Linked DNA regions of Homo sapiens: regions 2 and 3 are each linked to region 1. Evidence: promoter capture Hi-C in 16 types of primary human blood cells and fetal thymus (Javierre and others, 2016). All regions are on one chromosome and are shown on one strand. Each heading gives the region's core, a stretch centred on a gene start or on the middle of the fragment in contact. The rest is flanking DNA. Distances are from core to core; before and after follow the strand shown.

Evidence for each region. The method cuts DNA at HindIII sites, captures the fragments that hold promoters and counts their contacts. A CHiCAGO score of 5 or more calls a contact.
Region 2: a fragment that was not itself captured here is called in contact with the fragment with the promoter of DNAJB13 in region 1 in 4 of 17 cell types (non-activated CD4 T cells, naive B cells, total CD8 T cells and 1 more); the score reaches 5.9 in non-activated CD4 T cells.
Region 3: a contact is called between a fragment that was not itself captured here and the fragment with the promoter of DNAJB13 in region 1, in 2 of 17 cell types (non-activated CD4 T cells and naive B cells). The highest score is 5.5, in non-activated CD4 T cells.

What each region holds. Positions count from the first base shown.
Region 1 is chr11:73,948,560-73,952,405 of GRCh38, reverse strand. DNAJB13 (DnaJ heat shock protein family (Hsp40) member B13) reads right to left here and starts at 1,380. Exons shown (of 8, transcript NM_153614.4): 1 at 1,269-1,380. The coding sequence starts at 1,336. The HindIII fragment of the contact is 10,163 bases long and covers 1-3,846 here.
Region 2 is chr11:74,034,145-74,038,161 of GRCh38, reverse strand. C2CD3 (C2 domain containing 3 centriole elongation regulator) reads left to right here. Exons shown (of 33, transcript NM_001286577.2): 30 at 464-684; 31 at 3,884-4,017. Among named protein-coding and RNA genes, the nearest start is that of UCP3, 27 kb to the right of the region's middle. RefSeq lists an enhancer at 312-1,511. The HindIII fragment of the contact is 356 bases long and covers 1,500-1,855 here.
Region 3 is chr11:74,072,237-74,076,126 of GRCh38, reverse strand. C2CD3 (C2 domain containing 3 centriole elongation regulator) reads left to right here. Exons shown (of 33, transcript NM_001286577.2): 24 at 1,527-1,874. Among named protein-coding and RNA genes, the nearest start is that of UCP3, 65 kb to the right of the region's middle. RefSeq lists an enhancer at 3,487-3,556. The HindIII fragment of the contact is 550 bases long and covers 1,477-2,026 here.

The sequences.
Region 1 (3,846 bases), core at 131-2,630:
GTTGTGAGGGTTAAACAGTGATGGAAAGTTCTCAGAACAGCACCTACACACTCAAAACATACACCTATTGTCACTGCCTAACTTAATTGATTGAGTTATCCTGGACTCCTCTTTTCTTCACCCTCCAGTGATCCACTTAATTACCAAGTCCATTCCCTCCCCTTTCTCTGGCCTCATCTTTTGCCTTGATTACCACGAACAGCCTCCTAAAGGGTCTCTCTCCTTCCAAGATAACTTCCACAGCCCCCCATACTTCCTCTTCTGTAACACTCATCACAGTTGTGGTGACTTATTCAACATCTATTCAGCAACAAAATCTAGCTGCATGAGGTAAGGGAGTGTCGATGTCGGATTCCGACATTTATCTCCAGCTGCTACCACTGCAGCAGGAGTGAAGTACCCTCTCAACCCTTGTGGTAGACGCTCAATAAATATTTGTTAAAAAAAAAAACATGTTTTTGGCCAGGTGCGGTGACTCACACCTATAATCCCAGCACTTGGGAAGGCTGAGGCGGGTGGATCACCAGAGGTCGGGAATTTGAGACCAGCCTGACCAAAAAGGAGAAACCCCATCTCTACTAAAAATACAAAATTAGCTGGGCATGGTGGTGCATGCCTGTAATCCCAGCTACTTGGGAAGCTGAGGCAGAAGAATCGCTTGAACCCAGGAGGTGGAGGTTGCGGTGAGCCGAGATCACGCCATTGCACTCCAGCCTGGGCAACAAGACCAAGACTCCGTCTCAAAACAAAAAACAAAAACATGTTTTCAGAAAAATGTACTGACTCCTGTTGTAGGCTTTCTTAGGAACGAGCCAGAACGTCCTTAAGATCCGATGGAAGTATTCAGGAATGTAGTTTAGTCAATGCTGAAAACCTCCATCATGGCCAGAATTGAATTTAAAACATCCATCTGGCCTGGCCACTCCCTTGTTCACAAGCCTCTGGTTCTCCATAATATTCAAGATAAAGTTCAAATGGCTCCTTTGTCCCCACTTCATTGCTGGGAAAAGCAAGGCACCCAGGAGAGGATATAGGGCATGGAGCATAAAGGGAGATGGGTTGGGAGCAGATTGAGGAACTAAAGAGTTCAAATTTCCAACCTGGGCCCTGACCCAGACCAAAGCCAGGATACAGGTATGCAAGAAGTGAAAGGAGGAACAAGGTTTACCTTGTCTGCGCTAAGCTGTGCAGGAAAGCTCGTTTTGGAAGAGAAGAGGGCAGGGCCTGCCCCAGCACACCCCTAAGGCCTGGCTCCCACCCCAACTTACGCCTGCTTGATCTGGGCATCCTCTGAATTGCGAGTGATCCCGAGCACAGAGTAATAATCCTGGCCCATGGCTGGCTAGCTGGCAGTCAGGCCCTGGATAGTCCTCAGACTCTAGCAAGGCTGTTAGTTGGCTTCCTTGGTTGCTCCTGACAACCGCACAGGTGCACTCTGGGAGTTGTAGTCCCACTTCCCTAAACAAATTTCAGCTCTGCCACAGAGAGGAGTCAGTGAAAGGACTGGGGGAGAGCTGGGGCTGATTCTGCGACCCTGTGAAAGGTCACTCAACTCGGAAATTGAAGACTCACAGGGCTCTGTTTTATTTTGTTTTTGTTTTTAAAGAGAGCAGTAATTAGTTTTAATAAAAAGGTTTTAGAAGAAATGCATTTGGCTAATTTTTTAAAAATACATTTATTTTAGAACAGTTTTAGAGTTTAGAAAAGTTGAGAAGACAGTACAGAGAGTTCCCATATACCTCACATCCACATTCTCCTATTTTATTATTATTATTATCATTATCATGTTTTTGAGACAGGGTCTTCACTCTGTCACCCAGGCTGGTGGGCAGTGGCAGGATCACACCTCACTGCAGTCTCAACCTCCCAGGCTCAAGGGATTCTTCCACCTCAGCCTTCCAAGTAGCTGAGACACAGGCGTGCACTACCATGCCTGGCTAATTTTTGTATGTTTTGTAGAGATGGGGTTTCACCATGTTGCCCAGACTGGTCTTGAACTCTTGGGCTCGGCTTGGCCTCCCAAAGTGCTGGGATTACAGGTGTGAGCCACTGCATTCACATTCCCCTATTATTAACATCTTACATTAGTATGGTACATTTGTCACAAATAATGACCAATATTGATACATTATTATTAACTAAAATCCACATTTTATTCAGATTTACTAGTTGTTTTAACCTAATATCTTATTTCTGTTCCGGACCCCATCCAGGATGCCACGTTACACTTAGCTGTTGCATCTCCTCTGGTGCCTCCTGACTGTGACAGTTTCTCAGACTTTCCATGTTTTTGATGACCTTGACAGTTTAAGTAATAATGGTCAGGTGTTTTGTAGAATGTCCTGCAATTGGAATTTGTTTGGTGTTTTTCTTTTTGTTTGTTTGTTTTTGTTTTTTGAGATGGAGTCTCACTCCATCGCCCAGGCTGGAGTGCAGTGGCACAATTTCAGCTCACTGCAACCTCTGCCTCCCGGGTTCCAGCGATTCTCCTGCCTCAGCCTCCCAAGTAGCTGAGATTACAGGCATGTGCCACCATGCCCGGCTAATTTTTGTTATTTTTACTAGAGACGGGGTTTCACCATGTTGGCCAGGCTGGTCTCAAACTCCTGACCTCAAGTGATCCACCCACCTCAGCCTCCCAAAGTGTTGGGATTACAGGCGTGAGCCACCGCGCCAGCCCTCCTTCCCCACTTGCTGTATTGCACTCTTTGGAAGGCAGTCACTGTGCGGCCCACCCTTACAGTGAGGGAGTTATGCTCCACCTCTCTGAGTACAGCAGAGCCCTGTTTTCCATGCACATCCCAAATCCAACTGGTCACCAAGCTCAGTCCATTCTGCTTCCTAGACAACCTCTCAAGCCCAGCTCCTCTGCTCTTCCTCCTCATAATCAGGGCCCAGCTCTGGATTCATCTTTCAGCAAGACCACAACAACTTCCTCGCGGGCCTGCCTGCCTTGTCTCTGTTCTGCAAAGCCCACACTCCTCATTACTTCGAGTGAACTCCAAACTGCTTACCATGGCACACAGGCCCTCTGTGATCTGGTGCCTCCCTTTCCACCTGAGCTCTCACCACTGCCCTACACGCACCCACTGCTTGTCAGAATGGACTGCAGTGCCTGCCACTGCCCAAACCAGCCATCCCCTCTCCTCATTCACCTCTGCTGCTACCTCTGCTCAGAACCTCCCACCCCACCCACCACAGACCCTCGCCTCAACCCAGCTAACTTCTATTTGTTTTTTCTTCTTAGGAAGAAAAAGAGCAGCATTAGAACATTCCTTGTTGAAGGAATATTGCCCCGATGTGCCCCTCCCTACCTGTTTGTAATTCTCTTGCTTTTCTTTAGAGCTTTACTCCATATGCCTGTACCCAGTGGTGTGCTGTTTTGTGGCATTTGCCAGTTCTTCCCAAGCCAGTACAAGCCAGCTCCAGTGCCACACTGCAAATATCCACAGCAACATATTTACCTTTTCATATTTTTGAACTTTATATAAATGGTATCATTTATACAAATGGTAGGTATTTGTGTGTGTGACTTATTGTCACAGGCTGTATAGTACTCTCTGTTGATGAACATTTGGGTATATGCGCCCACTTTGCAAGGCAATGCCAAAGTTTTCTGGTGTGGTTTTCTAATTTACGCTGGCAACAGCAGTGTATCAGTTTCTTTTGCTTCATATCCTTACCAACTCTTTTTTTTTTTTAAGACAGGGTCTCCCTCTATTGCCCAGGCTGGAGTGCAGTGGTGCGATCATGGCTCAACCTCCTGCAGCCTCGACTTCCTGGGCTTAAGCAATCCTCCTGCCTCAGCCTCGCAAGTAGCTGGAAACCCAGGCACACACCACCACA
Region 2 (4,017 bases), core at 428-2,927, 85 kb before region 1:
AGAGTGCAGAAAGAACTATGGAGCACAGAAGAGGAGCCCCTAAACCAATTTAGGGAAGGCTTTTTAGAAGTTGCTTGCCTGAAGGATCAGGAATGGTTATGAGGTAGCAAAGGACAGTGTTAGCGCAGAGTAGGGCTTTATTCTGTCAAAGTAAACAGAAATAAGGACTGGAATGGTGGTCAAGAATGGTTCCTTTCTGAGGAAGTGGCATTTTTGCTGGACATCAGATGAGGAATCGCATTAGACAGACAAAAGGGGGAGAAAGTTGCCCCCAGCAGCAGGATTGTAGTCAGAGGAGTGAAGGATGAGTTGGTGGATTGGAGAGAGAGGGACTTAGTATATTAATAGACCAAGTGAGAGGTATTAAGGCTTTGGCTCAAGCGGTAGTGTCCAGGGGACATAAGAGATGTTCATAATCTCCATGAATTACCCCTTTGTCTTCTTCTCCCCCTTTTGTTTATAGGAAGAATCTGAGTGAGCTTGATCAGATTCAGAGGTACTTCCGCCAGAAGCTCACCAAGCCTTTCCTACCCCTCAGCCCTCAGACTCAAACGGCCATCTCACAGCACCAGGAGAGCTGTAGGGACCATCTTGGGCCAGGTGCCAGCAGCCTAGACCCTGGGAGCCAGTGTATCCTGGAGAAATCCAGTAACCTGGTGTTGCAAGTCAGCTCCTTAATCACAGGTATGACTCAGATCCTTTCTTGTTGAGATGTTATGGTCACTAGGTGCTAATTCAAAAAGCATTTGAATGTGTTCCTTCGGACAAGCCCCTATGACAAATAGAGACCAATTGTTTTCACCCTCTTCCTTTTTTTTTTTTTTTAACCATCTTGCGTTTGAAAAGGAGGGACATAATAGTATGGCACAGCAACATGGGGCAATGGAAAGAGCACTGGACTGACCCAGGTCCTTGATGGGCTTCTGGTACAGACTTAGAGTCTGACTCTGAACGTGTCCTTTCCCTTCTTAGACTTCAGTTTCCCCAGCCAAGAAAAGAGTGGGGTAGATTAGATGAGTGGTTCCTCAATAGCAATTCTTGAACTTGTGCCACTCTCTGAGAAAATAATGAACAATAAACATATTTAAAATTCTAATTATGAAAGCCCAGAAGTCTGCACTTTTAACAAGCACCCTAGATGATTCTGGATGTTAGCGATTCATAGTCCACCCTTTGAAAAACCCCTTTGGAGCAGTGGTTCTCACTTTAGCTGCATATTGGAATTATTGAGGGACTTTTAAAAAACCCCATGCCCAGGCTGTACTGTAGGTCAACAGAATCTCTGAGGTGGAACCCAGGCATCAGTATTGTTTCTAACTCCCCAGGTAATTCTAGTGTGTAGACAAGACTGAGACTGCTCTAGAGCAAATATTGGCAAACCTGCCTGAGCATAAGAATCACCCGGGGCACTTACTGTGAAATAGAGATTCCTGGGTCCTACTCCATCCTTCTGAATCAGGATCCAGGGTCATGACCTAGAAATCTTTATCAAGCAAGCTTCAGGGAACACTGGGAAATCAACTAGATCAGCATCTTCAGCCCTCACTTGTTTTTGCTTGAGCGAAATGTGTAGATTCTACACAGGGATGAAGAAGTTCAATTTTCTTTGTCTAACAGGAGAGAAAAACACCTTGATTAACACTAAGTACAAACCTTCTTTCTGTCTTCTTCTTCCAGATACCTAACCTGTTGGTATCCATGGCCTCAGATAAATGCTCTGTGTTTGACTTCCACTTGCTTGGATATTTTCAGTCAAGTGTTTATTGAGCACCATCTGTGCCAGGCACTATTCTGTTATTTGTCCCAGGAAGATACAGTGGTGGATATGACAGGCATTATCTCCCTTCATCAAGCTTATATTCTATAGTCAACCAAAGAAAAATCCTCTCACAAAGAAAGTATGACAGCAAAACAGATGAAGGCTTGTTTGGAGTAGAGGTGGAAACAAATAGGGGAATCTTTCTAAAGGGGCATATTAAAAGAGGAGAGAGAAGGGAATTGTGGCCAGGCACGGTGGCTCACACCTGTAATCCCAGCACTTTGGGAGGCCAGGGTGAGTGGATCACTTAAGGTTAGGAGTTCAAAACCAGCCTGGCCAACATGGCAAAACCCCATCTCTACTAAAAACACAAAATTTAGCTGGACGAGGTGGTGCGCACCTATAATCCCAGCTACTTGGGAGTCTGAGACACGAGAATCGCTTGAATGCAGGGGCAGAGGTTGCAGTGAGCCGAGATTGTTCCACTGCACCCCGGCCTGGACAACAGAGTAAGACTCTGACTCAAAACAAACAAAAAAAAAAGAATTGAAGCTGTGGGGCCTAATGTTTATCCTGGAAGAAATGGAAAGTTCTCAGCAAGCAGACAACTGAATGAGAACTGGTTTTCACAAGGAGAATGAATTTAAAAAGAGAAAGATGATTAGATCAGGGAAACCATTCAAAAAAAAAAAACAGCAAAAGCCTGCCCCTGCCTCCATTATGCTCCATTATGCCTCAGTATGCTGTTTTTACAAAGCCATCAGACAAATGGATATGAGTGAAACTTGAGAGAGTTACTGAGTGGGGTTTTTTTTAAGCCAGAGCTATATGCTAGGCTAGGCCCTAGAGATACAACATGATTCAGACATATGGTTCATGCCCTGAGAAGCTCACAGTCTGATGGGGTAAACATACAATTACACAGTGTCATATTCTTAAGTGCTTCCTTATAGAACAAAGCCATGTAGCAATCTTATTTAACTCGTGAATCTGGGAAGGCCTCCTGGAGGAGATCCAATAGAACATGGCCTTGAAGGCTGGGCAAGTTTATAAAAAGCAAGAAGACTGCTCTGAGACAGAAAGCATGTTCAGGCCAAAGGATTAGGATTAACTAAACATGCTTCCCCATGCCTATTCCTATTTACAGGTAGTAATGTTTCATTTTCGTCTATCTACCCATTCCTTTGAGGCCTGAAAATCATCAGTGTATAATATTAAACAGCCAGCACCTCCTGTAGAGTGAGCCCTCTGTTAGGTGCTGTGAGGGAGATGTGACCCCTATTCCCCAGGAATCAAATTTGCCTTCAGTTCCTAATTTTCTCCTCTCAAATAATCTTGCAAACATGTATCATTTACTGGGTCTATTTATTAATTGATTCACTCCCATTCCATCCCAAAAATAATTTGAGATGACTAGTAGCTTCTGTTTATTAAGTGGTTATATATTCACCACACAGTGTATGCCCATTTCTTTCGTGTATTCTCTACTGTAACCTTATGAAGTGGGTGGTGTTGATTACACTGTACAGATCAATAGGCTCAGAGAGGATGGTTTGCTTATGATCACAAAGTTAACAAGTGACAACAGAGATTCGAACCCAAGATTGACCGGCTCCAAAGCCTATGCTCTTTCCAACATACCTTGCTGCTTCTATTTTCTGTGTAAATCTTCCCTGCCTTATCATATGGGTGATAGATATTTCCTTGCTTTTATTTTCGAAGTAAAATAGGTAGTTTTAATAACTGTCATCAAATAGGTAAATAAGTGGATTCTCATTTTGATTTTTAATATAGGTAGTTACTGAAGTAACTGGAAGCATGAACATGCCCACCAGGACTCCCAGCTCCCAACGATTCCTGAGCATGAGCAGATAGTCTCTGAAAGCATTTCCACAGATGTATCCACAACTATAGATTAGATTCTGGTCCTCTGATATTAGAATAAAGTACTAAAAATTGTACCGCCTTGAATATAGTCTCACTGAATCTTGGGTGGACTAATTTTCTTTATGGTTTGTTCAGAGTCTGATTGCCATAGTGCTTCTGAAGCTAAAGGCTAGTGTGGGAAATTTGAGGGGTCTGTGGCCCTACCTTGTAATAAGAGTGATATGTGTTGCTGTTCAGATCTGCAGACTATCACCAGGGATTCGCAAGCAGCTTTGAGTTCTCACCGAGCCAGGAGTAGAAGCAACAAGGCCACCACCCTCCCAGATGCTCAGGACACAGAAGCACTGCAAGAACGATGCACAATGCCAGAT
Region 3 (3,890 bases), core at 502-3,001, 120 kb before region 1:
TGAACCAAGTTCACTTAAACTAAAGTTTATAAAGACAGGCTTTTAGCTTCATTCTGCTGAAGAAAGTAGGTTTAGGACACTGAATATAGATCTAAGTATAGGAACTCAAGCACAAATACTTCTTTTTATTGAGTGCTACCAAAGGTAGTATTTAGCTTTTCAGATCATCCGTTTCTCTCATACTTCTCCATATCCCTCTTGTCTGAGCTTTTTATCCTCTTGTGCAAGGGTCTTATACAAGGCATGTCATTTGATGTGTTTGTTGAATGCGTCAAGCCATCCATCCAACCTTACTTCCATGTTTTATTCATTTTCCTGAGGATAAGGATTTAACTGTGTTGCTTTTGGGTGTCTTCCCACCTGTAATGACCTGCCCTTATTTTCCTTTGATAATCATAATAATTTACACATTGCTTTGAGAAGAAAACTGGTTATCTAAAACAGGAAAGGTTTCATATTATTGCCATCTATGAATCAGTTAACTCCATTTTCCTGAATTGAAGTGAATCTAATGAAGCAAACTTTGAGATTCAGAAGGAACTATTAGTTCCTTCTGTTTTATAAATCTCATTTTAATATTCAGCAAGTTAGTAAAATTCAAGTCTCTGGGCTTAAATCTGCCACTTACTGCCAGAGTGATGTTGGCAGTTTATTTAACTCCTCTGAGATTCTGGCTTATGAAAAACACTCAACAAATATTAACTCCGTTGTATTTATTTCTGGTCTCCTGCTAACCTCCTACTTCCCCCCACCCCCCCCCAAAATATCGCCCGAACCCTAGTGAAACATAGCTAAATTGAGTGTCAAGACAGCCTCCTGATAGGGAGAAGGTCGAAAAACAGGAGCCCATGAGACACGAGGAAGAGAAAATAGACCACTCTTGATTTCATCAAATCTTAGACTTCTCTAAGTCTTGTTGCCTCTCAGCGCATGAATCCCTTCCACAACAGCTCTGCCTGGTAGTCATTTGGCTTTGGCTTTAAATCAGAGATCTTACTATTTTCATTACTTTTGTTTGTTTGTTTTATTTTGTTTTGTTTTTTGAGACAGAGTCTTGCTCTGTCACCCAGGCTGGAGTGCAGTGGCGCAGTCATGGCTCACTGCATCCTCAACCTCCTGGGCTCAGGTGATCCTCCCACCTTAGCCTCCTGAGTAGCTGGGACTGCAGACACACACCACCATGCTCAGCTAATTTTTGTGTTTTTTGTAGAGATAGGGTTTTACCATGTTGCCCAAACTCTTGAACTCCTGGACTCAAGCAATTTGCCCACTTCAGTCTCCCAACGTGCTGGGATTACAGGTGTGAGCCACCACACTCAGCCTACTTTTCATTATTGAAGATAGTTAGGGCAGGGTAAAAGTTTTCATGTTTTCTACCAGCTTCATAGTTTCTTTTGCAAATTGCTGTATTGGGGTTTGTAGACCTTTCAAAGGAGAAAGGACCACAGCACCCTCAGTGAGTATTTCCTCCAAGCTTGGTCTTGGTTCCTGCTTGACTAGCCTTATTCTTCTCCATCTTCTTTTAGGTGTGTATCCTCTGTTTGGACGAAATGCTTCCAACCTCTCAGGAGCTGCCTTGCGAGTTCATGTGGTTCTTTCCTCTCTTTCCTCACACCTTGAGCCCACTCATGAGCTGGACTCCATGGACTGCAGCAGCCACAGTGAGTCTGAGCAGCTCCCCAGAAGGAATGATGAGGTCCAGCTCTCTCCACCAGAAGTCATCTCCTGCCACCAGAAGTCTCCTGCCTCCACCCAGGTCCCCTGCAGCAGCACCACAGCTGAAGTCCGCCTGACGCAGGAGGGCCCTGCTGATTTGGATGGAACGTTTGCAGTCAGCATCCTAGTAGAAAGAGCAATGCACTTGAGCTTGAAAGGTATGCTCTCCTCACCTACCCAGGAGCATGTCTAACTCTTCAGGGTGTGCTCCTTTCTTCACAAATCTTTCAAATCATGGCAGGATCTGTTAATTATCTCAACTGATAAATATTTATTTCTCAAGCCTAAAGGTTTAAGCAACATGAAAGCTTTTCTGAACTTGTTGCATATCGTAAATTCCCCAGTCCAGCCACCTGAGTCTCAACCTAGATAGATACTTCTCTTTTCCTTATCCACTGTCAAATCATCGGATCCCTAACTTGTTCTTTATTAAATTTCTCAGATTTCTTCCTTCTGCATTCCTGCCAACTCAGGCCTTCCTAATGCACCTAGGGCCAGGTGTTTTTAACATTGGGTCCTTAAACATCCAAGGGATCCGTGAAAAGTTCAAACTCCGGGTTAGTGGCCTTGGATAGGAAAATAATTACATCTTTATTTTTAGCAACCTCTAGCTAAAATTTAACATATTTCCTCTCATTATGAATATAGGCAGTAGATCCTAGTAATAGTACCTGTGATATTGTCAACAATAGAAATCACAGGTATTTCCATATCACATCATTATTGCAGATATCTTAGAATATCACTTATAACTATGATTTCTTTGAAATTACAATAGTTAGGGGGGTTTTTTTGTTTGTTTTGATTTTTTTTTTTTTTTTTTTGAAACAAAGTCTTGCTCTGTCGCCCAGGCTGCAGTGCAGTGGCACGATTTCGGCTCACTGCAACCTCCACCTCCCAGCTTCAAGCAATTCTCCTGCCTCAGCCTCCTGAGTAGCTGGGATTACAGGCTTGTGCCACCACTCCTGGCTAATTTTTGTATTTTTAGTAGAGATGTGTTTTCACCATGTTGGACAGGCTGATCTCGAACTCCTGACCGCAAGTGATCCACCCACCTCAGCCTCTCAAAGTGCTGGGAGTACAGACGTGAGCCACTGTGCCAGACCTACAGTAGTTATTACCTATAGTTAGACCTTGTTACTAAAGCACATATATTACTATATCACAAAGTTCTTTTAGTTTTGATAACTCTATGTAAATATAATTGGATTTCTCTGTAATCCTATGTGTTTTACATTATGCATTTTAAAGAAACACTGTTAAAAGAAGAGGCCCATAGACCTTGCCAGATTGCCAGAGTCCATGGCACAAAGAATTCCTGCCCTACCTTTATTCAGCATTGTAATCTCCTAAAATTTCCCCTTTGCCGTCACCCTTCTCTTTTGCCTGGCTACTTCCAGCTCCTCTCTTCAGACCCAGCTCAGGCATCACCATTTCCTGGAGGGCTTTCCCAATATAAAGGCCCCCTTCTATTTGCTCCCCTGGCACTTTGCCCCTGTATCATATCATATGTCACACAGTACTGCAGTTGTTTCCATGGTTTTCTTTTCAACTAGATATGAACTGTTCAAAAGCAAAGACCTCATCTCATTTGTTCATTCATCATGCATTCATTTATTTTACAACAAAACTTACTGTATTTGCTACATGCTAAGCCCTGTCCTTGGTGCCAGGGATAAAACAGTAAAAAAAAAGGACAGACAAAAATTGTGCCCTGTGGAGATTACATTCTAGTAGGAATATATTTATCCCTGTGTCCCTAGCCAATAAATTGTATGTGTACATATGTGTGACTTTGAGCAAGGTATTCTTTCTCTCTGTCTTGAATTTCTCATCTGTAAATGGCTGTGATTAACAATGTTCAGATGTGTGGTGTCTATGAGAGCCAGTCAACCATGGCCTTATGAATCCAGAAAGTTTCAATATACATCATTTGATTCAGATTTGACCTCTCTGTTTGGCTCCTGTCATCTCTGTTTTGGTGTCTCTCAAACTGTGTCATGTGTCCTTACTACTTTAGAACAGAAACAAAACCTGTGCTCATAGTAACTATTATTTATCTCTCATTCCTACTCCTCCCCGTTTATACTACCAACAGCCATTACTCCTGGGATTATAAGCTTCCATAATGATCCTTGATGTTCTCATCCATTTCAGCCATTGTGTATCAGAAA